Regions from separate parts of the Homo sapiens genome. Here region 1 is linked to region 2. The links are contacts of gene promoters, found by promoter capture Hi-C in human tissues and cell types (Jung and others, 2019). All regions are on one chromosome and are shown on one strand. The core of a region is centred on a gene start or on the middle of the fragment in contact, and the rest is flanking DNA. Distances in the headings are between cores, read along the strand shown. Region 1 overlaps FAM162A (family with sequence similarity 162 member A). Region 2 holds the start of PARP15 (poly(ADP-ribose) polymerase family member 15).

Region 1 (5,599 bases), core at 2,950-5,449, 170 kb before region 2:
TCAGGTGCTCCTAACTGACCAATTTGACAGTCCTTAGCAGTTGTCTTGGGTTCCTGCCAGCCTGCAGGCCCAGCTTAAGTGCCTGGAGAACCCCGTCCACATGCTGCCTCACAGGTCCCAGCTCCTACATCACATTGTACATGGCTTCATCATCTTCCTCCTTCCACCTGCAACATCCCAGACTCTTTGCCTCCTTCCAAGCATTTTTAAAGTACTCCCCTCCCCAATTTTAAAAGTAATATATGTTAAATATCTCAGGGGAAAGAAAGCACTTCAATCCCATCATCTAGAGATAATCACTTCCTATTTACACATCTACTGAGAAGGCCATAAGTTAATCCTGGGCCCCATAAGGGCTCCACATCCCCTGCCTTGAGGTTCTGCCAGACACCGAGGTAACAGAATCGTGACCACCAGGTGTGGCAATGCATGCCTATAGCCCCGGCTGCTCAGGAGGCTGAGGCAGGAGGATCGCTTCAGTCTAAGATTTTGAGTCAGCAACATGGTGAGACCCCATCTCTTTAAATAAAGTAAATTAAAAATAGAACCATGACTCACTGCCTACTTGCAAAATCACCAAGGTAGATTGGCCTTTAGACTCTTCTATATTAAGCCTCTTAGGTTTCACACAAGAATGATGAACCAACCATCAACTTTTTTTTAAGGCACATGGGTCTGTATTCAGTAGATAGGTTAGAAGAGCTGCACTTTGGCACTTGCCAAAGACCACAATATCAAGTTCACTGTCACTCAATTTTAGCAAAACATTTGTTTAAAAAGATAAATATTGAGGAGCATTGCTTAAAGGATCTTCCTACTATTTTAGATATTCTCAAATCTATTCTGGGTTCAAGACAGAGAGCAAAAAGCTGGGTATATGGAGCACATTGGTTAACTTTCTCCAATGTTTGATCATTCTGAATTGTGCTTTGTGTTGAAACATATGAAGCTTATTGTAGTATCTGTTGTCGAGATGTTTTCAGACGATGACTACATCACATAATGTCTTCTTAAGAACCTCAGGGAGAAATGACTGTTTCACTTCTAGCATTTATAGGCTGCTTGGAAACCTGAGAGCCAAAATTGGGGTCCACCATAGCAAGTGTAGATTAATATGCCTTGCCCATTTTTTTTTTTTGGCTTTGTTCTTGACTTCTCTTTTTGTTTTCTTCTTTTGTACTTAATTGTGTGCTATCCTGTATTTTATACATAAATGAGTTACGAAAAATGCCTCATCCTCCCCAAAGTCCTATGAGATCTCTAGGCCCTTTTTAAAGAGATCTCTAGGTCTCCCTATTTATATTTATAGACACTACTACATTTTGAATTTATACACAGCCTTTTATCCTGAGCAACTTCAGAAAGGGAAAAGTTAATAACTTTCTCTCATGATCTCATTGTATTACTAGGTTGGAGATGCTTGATGCTGCAAAGAACAAGATGCGAGTGAAGATCAGCTATCTAATGATTGCCCTGACGGTGGTAGGATGCATCTTCATGGTTATTGAGGGCAAGAAGGTGAGAAGGGGTTTCTTCTCTATCCAGTATGTATGTTCTCCACCAAGAACCTAGAGTAAATCAGGGATTGACCCTTGTATTTACCCTCTGAGAAGAGGAGGCTACTTTCTACATTACATGAGAAAAGATAAGCAAAAAAATAAGACATATTGGGAACAAGCCTGGAATATCATCCTTGGGGATAGATAGCAAATCCTAACTTTGGCGTGGTGAAGAAGGACTAGATTCATTTTGTGTAATGTAAATTTAAAAAGTGTTTCTGATGACAGGTGTCATAATGTAAATTAAGAAATAGGACACTGGCATATTTAATCACCCACTGCATATTTCCAGAGTGCTCTTGGTACCCAAGTGTATTTACCCTCACCATAACTGCCTTCAGCATGGTGAGCTTTCTTAGCGGGGTTCTTTATTTGAAGCTCAGCCAGACAGGGCCATGTGTCTAAGGACCACAGCTCCTAAGCAGTACATAGGAATACAAGTCCAGAAATCTTTAGCACAGATTATAATTAATAGCTATCACTAATTGAACACTCACTGCATTCCAGGTACTTTTCTAGCTGGTATCTCATCTGAACCTCACAAAAACACTGTAAGATAAGTATTATTAGGACCTGATTTATAGATGAGGAAAACTATAGCTTAGAAAGCTTTAGTAACTTGCCCAAGGCCACATATCTCCTTAATGACGAGCCACAGTGTGAACCTAGACCCAATTCAGGTAATAGGAAAATTCCTCCCATTTATTGAGTGCTTATTATGTAACAGGCACTGTTAAGCTCACTTAATCACCCCCATAACCCTAAGAGGTAAATAGTTTTCCCAAACTCACACAGCTAACAAGTGGCAAGATAAAAATCTAGACCCAAGTTTGCAGGTTACCAAACCTCATACTATACTATCTTGCTATTAAGCCATAGTTATTTTTATATTCAGCAGCTTTGGTCAAATTCTTCTTTTAATACCATGTATAATTCTATATATCACAGCTTCCATGTGGAAAGTGATGTCTTACAACTACTTTAAGATACTAAAAAGGTCCTTCTATACACGCACTCTTAACTGACTTTCTTATCCTCAGTAATTCCAGAGTAAAAGGAAATGTACTTTTGGCTGTCTTCATTCTTGCAGTTAAATGGAAATACTGACCATTTTAGGCTGACCTCATGGGAGTACGAAGGGGCAAATGTGCTGAGCTGGGTGAAGTTCTCTTGAAAACTCTGTTCCCACCCCACTTCATTTTTTCTTGTCTCCCTCTTTGACCTCTCATGCATAGTTCTCAGATTAAAACCAGCAGAAACATGTGGACAGGACTGTGAGCTTCTAGGATTCTGAGAAATTTGCATTGCTTTTGTATACTCGATTGTACTAGCTGAGTTTAAATACTCCAGAAGCAAATTATTCACCTGGAATCTCTTCTAGCATCATCCAGGGGTATATGCTGTGTATTTTAGAGAGTTCTTCTCCTGTTCTTTACCATAAAATTGTAACATTTTAGTTTTATGGAATTTCTGTTTCCATAAATACTACTGGAATGGAGAACTTTTGAACTCAATGTGATTTGGAAGAGAAAAATTAGCCATTGTATATTTTGCTCTCACCATCAACTTCCCTTTCTCCCCCCGCTCCCCCACCCCCCGCCACATACCCAATTCTTTTACATATGAAATTACACAGATAGAAGGAAATATCAGCTTAGGGTGCTAGTTTCACTATTTGGTATAAAAGTGTTGAAACTGGCCTGTATGTAAGCTTCATAGAAATCTGACCGTTTACATGGAGGGAAACAAGGGAAGAGGACGGTTGCCTCCCCCACTCAAAGGTTGGAATTGTAGTACAGATACTCGTGGAAATCATCAATGGTAGTATTTGGGTAAAGTCTGGGATTCCCAAAGCTGAATGTTTTTGGTAAAAGAGAAGTGAGGAACTAGAAGGATCTGAGTATGCAGATAAGTTGGGGAAGGAGAAATGGCAGCAACAGAGAAAAGTGAAAGAAGAAAAACGGGATAGAAATGGCAATGAGAAGGTATTTAGTATAAAAGAGAAGTGGGGTGGAATGAGAAGAAAGTATAAGAGAAAAGGAGAGGATAAAGACTGAAAGAAAGGGGCCAGAAGGGAAGAAAAAGGAGAGGTGTGGCACTTCTTACTTATGCTTGAGTGGATGAGCTGCTGTTCTTGGAAGCGTACGAGGAAGTTGAAGCACATAGAGGAAACTGCCGTGCTCAGTGTGCAAGCAGCAGAGGACTCCATGCCTCCATGCCTCTGTTAACCTGCTGTCATCAGTGCAAGGTAAAGACACCCTCCCCTGACCAGCATACAAATCACCTGTTCAAATCTGTTTTGCTTTAGGCTGCCCAAAGACACGAGACTTTAACAAGCTTGAACTTAGAAAAGAAAGCTCGTCTGAAAGAGGAAGCAGCTATGAAGGCCAAAACAGAGTAGCAGAGGTATCCGTGTTGGCTGGATTTTGAAAATCCAGGAATTATGTTATAACGTGCCTGTATTAAAAAGGATGTGGTATGAGGATCCATTTCATAAAGTATGATTTGCCCAAACCTGTACCATTTCCGTATTTCTGCTGTAGAAGTAGAAATAAATTTTCTTAAATAATGACTGTGTTTTATTGTTTTGATCCAAGTCAAGTGTAGCCTCTCAGCCTTTTGGAGAAAAATGAAACAATTTATTTCAACTTGAATACCAACTCTTCAGAGAAGCAGGTACCATATCTTACTTCTCTTCCCATTATCAAAGTAACCTCTCCACAGGCGAACTCATTTTGAGGAGATAAGGAAGGCCAGTTGAGTATATGGCCCAGGTGCAGCTTGGAGGGCCAGCCTTCTCAAATGTCCTGGTGTACTGGTGGGGAGGCTGCCCCCTAATAGAGCGAGCGCTGAGAAGCAGCCAGACCACATTCTATAATCTTTGAACATGCTGGCAGATGGAGGCTTTTAGGAGAATAGTTTTTTAAACATTCTGACAAGGTCCAGCCAGGAATTTCTAAGGACTTAGAAATCCCAGCGTCATGGAGTTGCTTGGGGTCAACACAAGTCACCTCTTAGCTTCATGCCTTAGAATTCTCAACTGGCTGTTTTCTTACCACCTGAGAAACTAAATTTCTCAATTATAAAAATCTCATGTATTATTACTGTTAGAAGTATTTGCACCTCATATATATCTCATTTACAGTTTGACCTTGGGATATCGAGTTGTCTCATATTTAGGTATGAATACAGGTTTCTATTTTAAACATTGATTCTCACATGCTTCTTAATTATTCATGGATGACAAGCCATTATAGTAGTCCCTTCTTATCCACGGCTTTGTTTTCTGTGGTTTCAGTTACCTGAGGTCTGAAAATATTAAATGGAAAATTCCTATAACAATGCATAAGTTATAGATTACATACCATTCAGTGTAGCATGATGAAATCTCTTGCCAATCTGTTCCATCCACCTGGGATGTGAATCATCCCTCTCTCTGGTGTATTCACACTGTATGTGCTAGCCGTCTCTGTTACGAGATCAGCTGTCGTGGAATCAGTGCTAGTGTTCAGGTAACTCTTATTTAATAATTGCCTCAAAGTGCATTGTGCTGTGCCTAATTTATAAAATAAACGGTATCATAGGTATGTATGTATACGAAAAACATAGTATATGCAGGGTTGGGTACTATCCACAGTTTCAGGCATCTACTGGGGGGTCTTGGAATATATCCCCAGAGGGTAAGGGGTGACTACTGTATACAGCCATGCCAACATGCTGGTTCTCAGAGAGTTATAAGAGAGATTAAAAATACATGCAGCTGTTTGGGCACTTTCTTCCCAAATAAAATACCCAGTAAAATGTAACATACTACCTATAGCTTGATAATCTATCTGAGGATGTTTATGATGTCTGTCTATATACTTTAATTTGGCCTTAGCTTCTTTGTAGGTATCAAGTTATCACTTGCAAATTTATTTTCAAAAAGCATAGTTTCTTGTACATTTTAGAAGATTAGTTTTTCTTATTTTGGGACACCTACACCAATGTTTTAAATGTGGATAAATTTTAATGTGGAATTTCTTTTAAAAATAATCCTC
Region 2 (6,038 bases), core at 1,901-4,400:
ATCAGATAATAATAGCTAATATTTAATGAGTACTTACCTTAGTTTGTCCCCTTTACAACAGCTTTACATCTGTGTGATTGATACAGTTCATATTCCCATTTTATAACTGAGAAAACTGGTGCACAGAGAGGATAAGCAACTTGCCAAAGGTCACACAGTTAATAAGTGGAAATGCTGGGGTATGAACCAGGTAGTCTGCCCCCATAGCTCTGCCCCCCAGAGCTGTACTGTCTCCCATGAGGGTACTTCTCCATGGAGCAGCCTGAGGCGATCCCTTTATTCTGGGCTTCTCTCAGAAATGGATTCCCACACAGTATTCAAAGCAAATTTCCCCAGAGGAAATCCTATTGGAAGAACTTAAAAACTCAGAATCTTTTTCTTTGTCCAGAGAGTTGAGGAAGCTTAAGCTAAATGATACATGTTTTTAAAAAAAAATCAGATTATAAATTTAGTTTTTGGTGATTCATTAAATTCTTTACTATTATAGTTATTTTCTAGCTGTTCATCTTTTAGCTAAATTTGTTCCAAAGAAGCAAAAGTTTGGTTTCTACTAAGTTCTGGATTCTGGATGGGAGATTGCACTGTGTGTGACATGCAAGTTTCATGGTGTGGGAGATTGCAGAGCATTTGGGTTACTGCTTTTACTCTTTGGAAGCTGTTATCATCTGTATCTGCTTTAAATAAAGTTAAAGATTTGGAACAAATTGTGTTCTTTCCCTTGCTTCTTTTTTTTTCCTTTAGGTTGAGATTCTGGGTGTTTCCTACAACACACACAGCATACAGTTGTATAACATGTGCATGGAGATCTTTGGTTGATTTTGTGTGTAGCTGCTTCCTAAATATGATCACAGTACAACTTAACTACTCTTGACTTCACTGCTGTTACTTTTGGCTGTAAAAATCACATTTCTCAGTATTTTTTCCTTATAACATATAGGTTATAAAGATAAAAGTAGGCTGCAGATATCATCTCTTCTCTCCTGGAGAGAGTATATACAATACCCTATCAAACTATATTTGCCCTCTCCTTGCTTCTTGAGGTTCTGTTTCACCTCTCCAACATTGGTGCTGAAGTACCCAGACAGGTCATTGAGCACTATTAGATCAGGGGCACCCTTCTCTCCAAAGAAAAAATAAAATAAAAGAATAATACATATTTGATGCTTCCCTGAAAATAGCATCAAAGTAATCATTAGGAGAAAAATAAGATCTTTATTGGACTTCCTTACACTTACCGTAATAGTTTAGTGTTTACAAAAATTATCCAGGCATGGTGGTACACATCTGTAATCCCAGCTATTCCGGAGGCTGAGGCATGAGAATTGCTTGAACCCAGGAGGCAGAGGTTGCAGTAGGCTGGGATCAGGCCACTGCACTCCAGCCTGGGCAACAGAGCGAGACTCTGTCTCAAAAAAAAAAAAAAATGTTTAGTACTGTTTTTGGTTTGATTTCCATACAGAAGTTAGGTGCTATTTCCTTTTTTATCGATTGGGTCATTTTTATTGATCAGATCTAAAACATAGAGCTTGATGCAAAGATTAAGATATTAATAATTTTGGAGGTCCAAGCCCAAGGACAAACAAAAAGAGAAGTGAGGCAAAGTAAGATGTAATGTAACGCGGTGCTAGGGGTTATCACCCTGGTTACTGCTTCACAATGAACCTGATGTTGCTGGTCTGGGAATTACATTTAGAGATCCACTGGCCTAGAAAATAGAGTTTAAACTCAGCAGCATGGCCGTTAGCGATTGCTCATGCCACTTTGCATACTTTGTGCTCCTTCCTCACCACCAAGTCCCTAGGGTTCAGTCACACCAGACTACAAGATTTTCCAAAGCACAGTCTATGCTTTCATTCATGTGATCTTTGTTCTGTGTAATCCACCCCCATCGCTGCTCTCTGCATGACAGATGATGAAAAAGGGAACTCTGAAGAGAGAGAGGGAGAGAGAGACACACCTCATTCTCATTCTTCACCTGATTTTCCTCTTAGAAAGTCCCCTACTCATCATGCAAGGTCTTACTGAAATGCCACTACTATAGAAACTTTTCTCCAATCTTGTCTCTAAATTACAACGAACCACTGATTTCTGTTATCCTAATACTTTATATGTATCTCAATGCAAATACGATACCAAAACCTTTTACCCTGCTCTCTGCCTTGGAGGTGGTACTGAGGGCTGACCTCTAAGTACCACATCAGCTCCATTCTCTGATTACTCATTGGGTTCTGCAGTGGGAGGTACCAGCACGAGATTGGAAGGCACACGGAGAGAGTACTTGGGATGCTTATACTCCCCTGGCTGTCTTCCGAAAGCAGTCATGGGTTCTACCTGCTGGCACTTGGTATAGCTCTTACCAAGTTCAGGAGATGCCCCCTCCCTTGCCCCTTCAGCCTAGATGGTAAGGGGAGGAGGCTACTTCACCATCTCTCAATGGTTTCCTTAACCCTTTGCCCACACCTGTGTAAATAATTTCTTTATTAAATTATCTTCAATTATTAATTTTGAGTATACCATCTGTATACTGCCAGGACTTTTCGTGATACACCAGGTAACAGTATTAATCTATGTTTTATTTCTCCACCTCCTACTTCACCCCTCACTCCAAAGAGAGGGGATCTGTGTCTAATTCATCTTTATAATCTTAACACAGTGCCAGGCATATCAAAGGCCTTCAATACGCGTTGATTGAATTAAATAATGCCCTGTTGGGCCAGAGGGGAACCTGACTCCAGCCCTGGCTTAGGGAGCACAGGAGAGAACCCAGTGTATTTTTCTAAATATGGGTGTGTAGGGAGAATTGGGGGGAAAGGAGTGGGATGCCCAACAGAAAAGGAAAGGAATACTGATTCCTGTGTTTTAATGTGCCAGGCATTCTACAGACTTTATCTCATTTAATCTTCATTATAATAACATGAAATAGTTATGGCTGTGCCCACTGTACAGATGCTATTGACTGAGGCTACATAACTAATAAAATTGCAGACCTCAGGATTTTGACCCAGGATTTGTCTGGCAGTAACGTCTGTCCCAAAGGGCGACACAATCCTGAGGCAGCTGTTCGCAAACTCGAGGCCTCAATCTTTGACGGAAGCGGTTTTCAGAGAAAAGAAGTTCGAGGCACAAGCCTGTTGGGTGGGGCGCAACTGCAGTCCCAGCGAGCTGAGGATGGCTGCGCCAGGCCCCCTTCCTGCCGCTGCTCTGAGTCCAGGGGCTCCGACCCCCAGAGAACTTATGCACGGAGTTGCAGGTGTTACTTCCAGAGCCGGACGAGATCGGGAGGCGGGGAGCGTGCTGCCGGCCGGGAACCGTGGGGCGCGGAAGGCCTCCCGGCGCTCTTCCTCCCGGAGTATGGTGAGGAGCGCGGGGGACGGGTGCGGGAAGGGGACAGCAGGGCTGAGCCTGGGGCCCGCAAGACCCAGCAGCCCGAGCGGGCGCAGAGACCCCACGCCACGCACAACCCTCTCTTCTAGGGGGCGCCGACTACACTGACTTCCCTGTTCCGGAAGAGGGGGATGCGTGCTGCTTCTTTTTCCTTAGCATTTCTGGTGGTTTTTTTTTTTTTTCCCTTAAAATTTAAAAGTTCTTTATAAAGTTTGAAAGGATATGAGTCCTTTATTCGTGATATGTGTTATGAATATGTCCTCCCAATTTATTTTTTGTTTTTTGAGTTTGCTTATGGGGGGCTTTTGTTTCTCTTTGCCATGCAAATATTTTAAATTTTGTGTGGCAAGACTTACCAGTCTTTTATTTTATGACGTCTAGACTTTTAGTCATATTTTAATATATGACTTTTAGTCATACTCTTCCCTACACCCAAGTTATAGAAGAGTTCACTCATGCTTGCTTCTAGTACTTGAACTGATGTATTTTTTACATTTAGATCTATAATACATTTGGAGTGTGTTATTGTGTGTGGTTTGAGGAGTGAATCTAATTATTTTTTTTCAAATGGGTATCAAGTGTCCCAACACCATTTATTATAAAGGTCGTCACTGTCCCAGTAACTTGAGATACCAGCTTTATCATGTACTAGACTTTCATATGTGGTTCGGGTATTTCTGGACCTTCTATTTTCATCCATTGACCCGTTTATTCATCTGCTTTAGAGAGGCTTTGCTGTATGTTTTAATGTCAGGGCTAGTCTTCCTAGAGAGTGCTTCCTTGTCACTATTTTCCTAGCTATTCTTGTTGTTTATTTTTCCTTATGAACTTTTCTGATGTATGATCAGTTTAAAAAAAAAAAAGAAAAGCTCTTTGGAATTTTTATTGGGATTGCATTAAATTAATAAATTACAGAGAGCTGATATCTTTAGGTGGTGTTGACATGGTCTAACCTACTGTGCTGTGAAAGATTGAAAATTTGAGTATGTAATGTATATGATATTAAATTGTGAATTGGTGGGACATATGTAACAGCTTTTCAACAATTGTAGATACTGGTACTTCATATCCTCTTAAGGAAAATTTGCCTCCAAATTTTAAGCTGGAAAGTCACTAGAATAACTTTTAAAAACAATTACAATACATGACTTTTTAAACTTTTTTGTGTGTGTATGTTAAGAATAGTGTACAAATTGAAATATCTGTGTACTGATCCTCGACACAACCAATGAAATCTCCATTATGAAGGAATGTTTTGAAGCACATAGAAAAGGAAGCGAAACAAAGGATGCCTTTTCATTGTTTAAGTCTATTTTTGTGTCTTTAAAGAAGGTTTATAGTTATCTTCACATAAAACATTTCAATTTTTCTTTTTTCTCAATATTATATATGAGGTTTACTCATTCGCTATGTTGTCTATTTACGTGTATGTATGCTTTGATGTTTTCTTTCATTTTAAAAATTAAGGTGTAATTTACAGACAGCTTTTCTATATTTAGAAAATTCATACTTTTTAGTGTATACTTCTGTGAGTTTTGACAAATGTTTACCAGTATAATGAAGATATAAAAGAGTTTTCTACCAGTTTCTTTGTCTTCAACCTCTTCACTCAAGATGAGCTCCTGGCAACCACTAGGGTCATCTTTTGGTCCCTGTAGTTCCAGAACGTCATGTACATGAAATCATTCAGCAGAGAGTCTTTGGAGCCTTAGGTATCACTAATTTGCTACTGCTTTCTATTAATAGTTAAATTTCATTGTGGTCAGAAAACATATTTTTCATTATTTGAATTCTTTAAAATCTATGTATTGAGGGCCGGTCGCGGTGGCTCACGCCTGTAATCCCAGCACTTTGGGAGGCCAAGGTAGGTGGATCACTTGAGGTCAGGAGTTCAAGATCAGCCTGGCGAACATGGTGAAACCTCGTCTCTACTAAAAATACAAAAATTAGCCAGGCATGGTGGCACACACCTGTAGTCCCAGCTACTCAAGAGGCTGAGGTAGGAGAATTGCTGGAACCTGGGAGGCAGAGGTTGCAGTGAGCTGAGATTGCGCCACTGCACTCCAGCCTGGGTGACAGAGCAAGACTCTGTCTGAACAACAACAGCAACTATATGTATATATATATATATATATATATATATATATATATATGCACGCGCGCACACACACACACAGAGACATTTGTCTTATGGACACAATATGATCTATCTTGGTAAATTTCCAAGCACACTTGAAAACAAAGTACATTCTCTCATTGGATAGAGTGTTCTATAAATGTCAATTAGGTGGAGTTGGTTGTTGTTCAAGTCCTCATGTCCTTACTGATTTTATGTCTACTTGTTCTATCAATTATTTAGAGAGGATGATGAAATCTCCAACTATAATTGTGGATTTGTTTATTTTCTCCTCGGAGTTCTCTCAATTTTGCTTCATATATTTTGAAGCTCTGTTATTAGGAATAAAATGTTTAGGATTATTTCCTCTTGATGAATTGGTTCATTTGTCATTATGAAATGACATTTTTACCCTTGATAATATTTGCACTGAAATCTACCAAGTTTCTTTTTCTTTTATTTTTAAAAATAATGATAAAATGCATATAACATCAGATTTACCGTCTTAACCATTTTTAAGTATACAGTTCAGTAGTGT

What was found. Contacts are between HindIII fragments. The study calls those that stand out against the background at their distance.
Region 1: a contact is called between a fragment that was not itself captured here and the fragment with the promoter of PARP15 in region 2, in 1 of the 25 tissues and cell types used here (bladder).

What each region holds. Positions count from the first base shown.
Region 1 is chr3:122,405,872-122,411,470 of GRCh38, forward strand. FAM162A (family with sequence similarity 162 member A) reads left to right here. Exons shown (of 5, transcript NM_014367.4): 4 at 1,410-1,518; 5 at 3,868-5,599. The coding sequence ends at 3,960. Among named protein-coding and RNA genes, the nearest start is that of WDR5B, 7.4 kb to the right of the region's middle. RefSeq lists an enhancer at 589-638. The HindIII fragment of the contact is 5,283 bases long and covers 1,559-5,599 here.
Region 2 is chr3:122,574,500-122,580,537 of GRCh38, forward strand. PARP15 (poly(ADP-ribose) polymerase family member 15) reads left to right here and starts at 3,151. Exons shown (of 12, transcript NM_001113523.3): 1 at 3,151-3,354. The coding sequence starts at 3,169. DTX3L (deltex E3 ubiquitin ligase 3L) reads left to right here. Exons shown (of 5, transcript NM_138287.3): 5 at 1-704. RefSeq lists enhancers at 1,534-1,583, 3,118-3,397 and a silencer at 3,458-3,507. The HindIII fragment of the contact is 9,405 bases long and covers 1-6,038 here.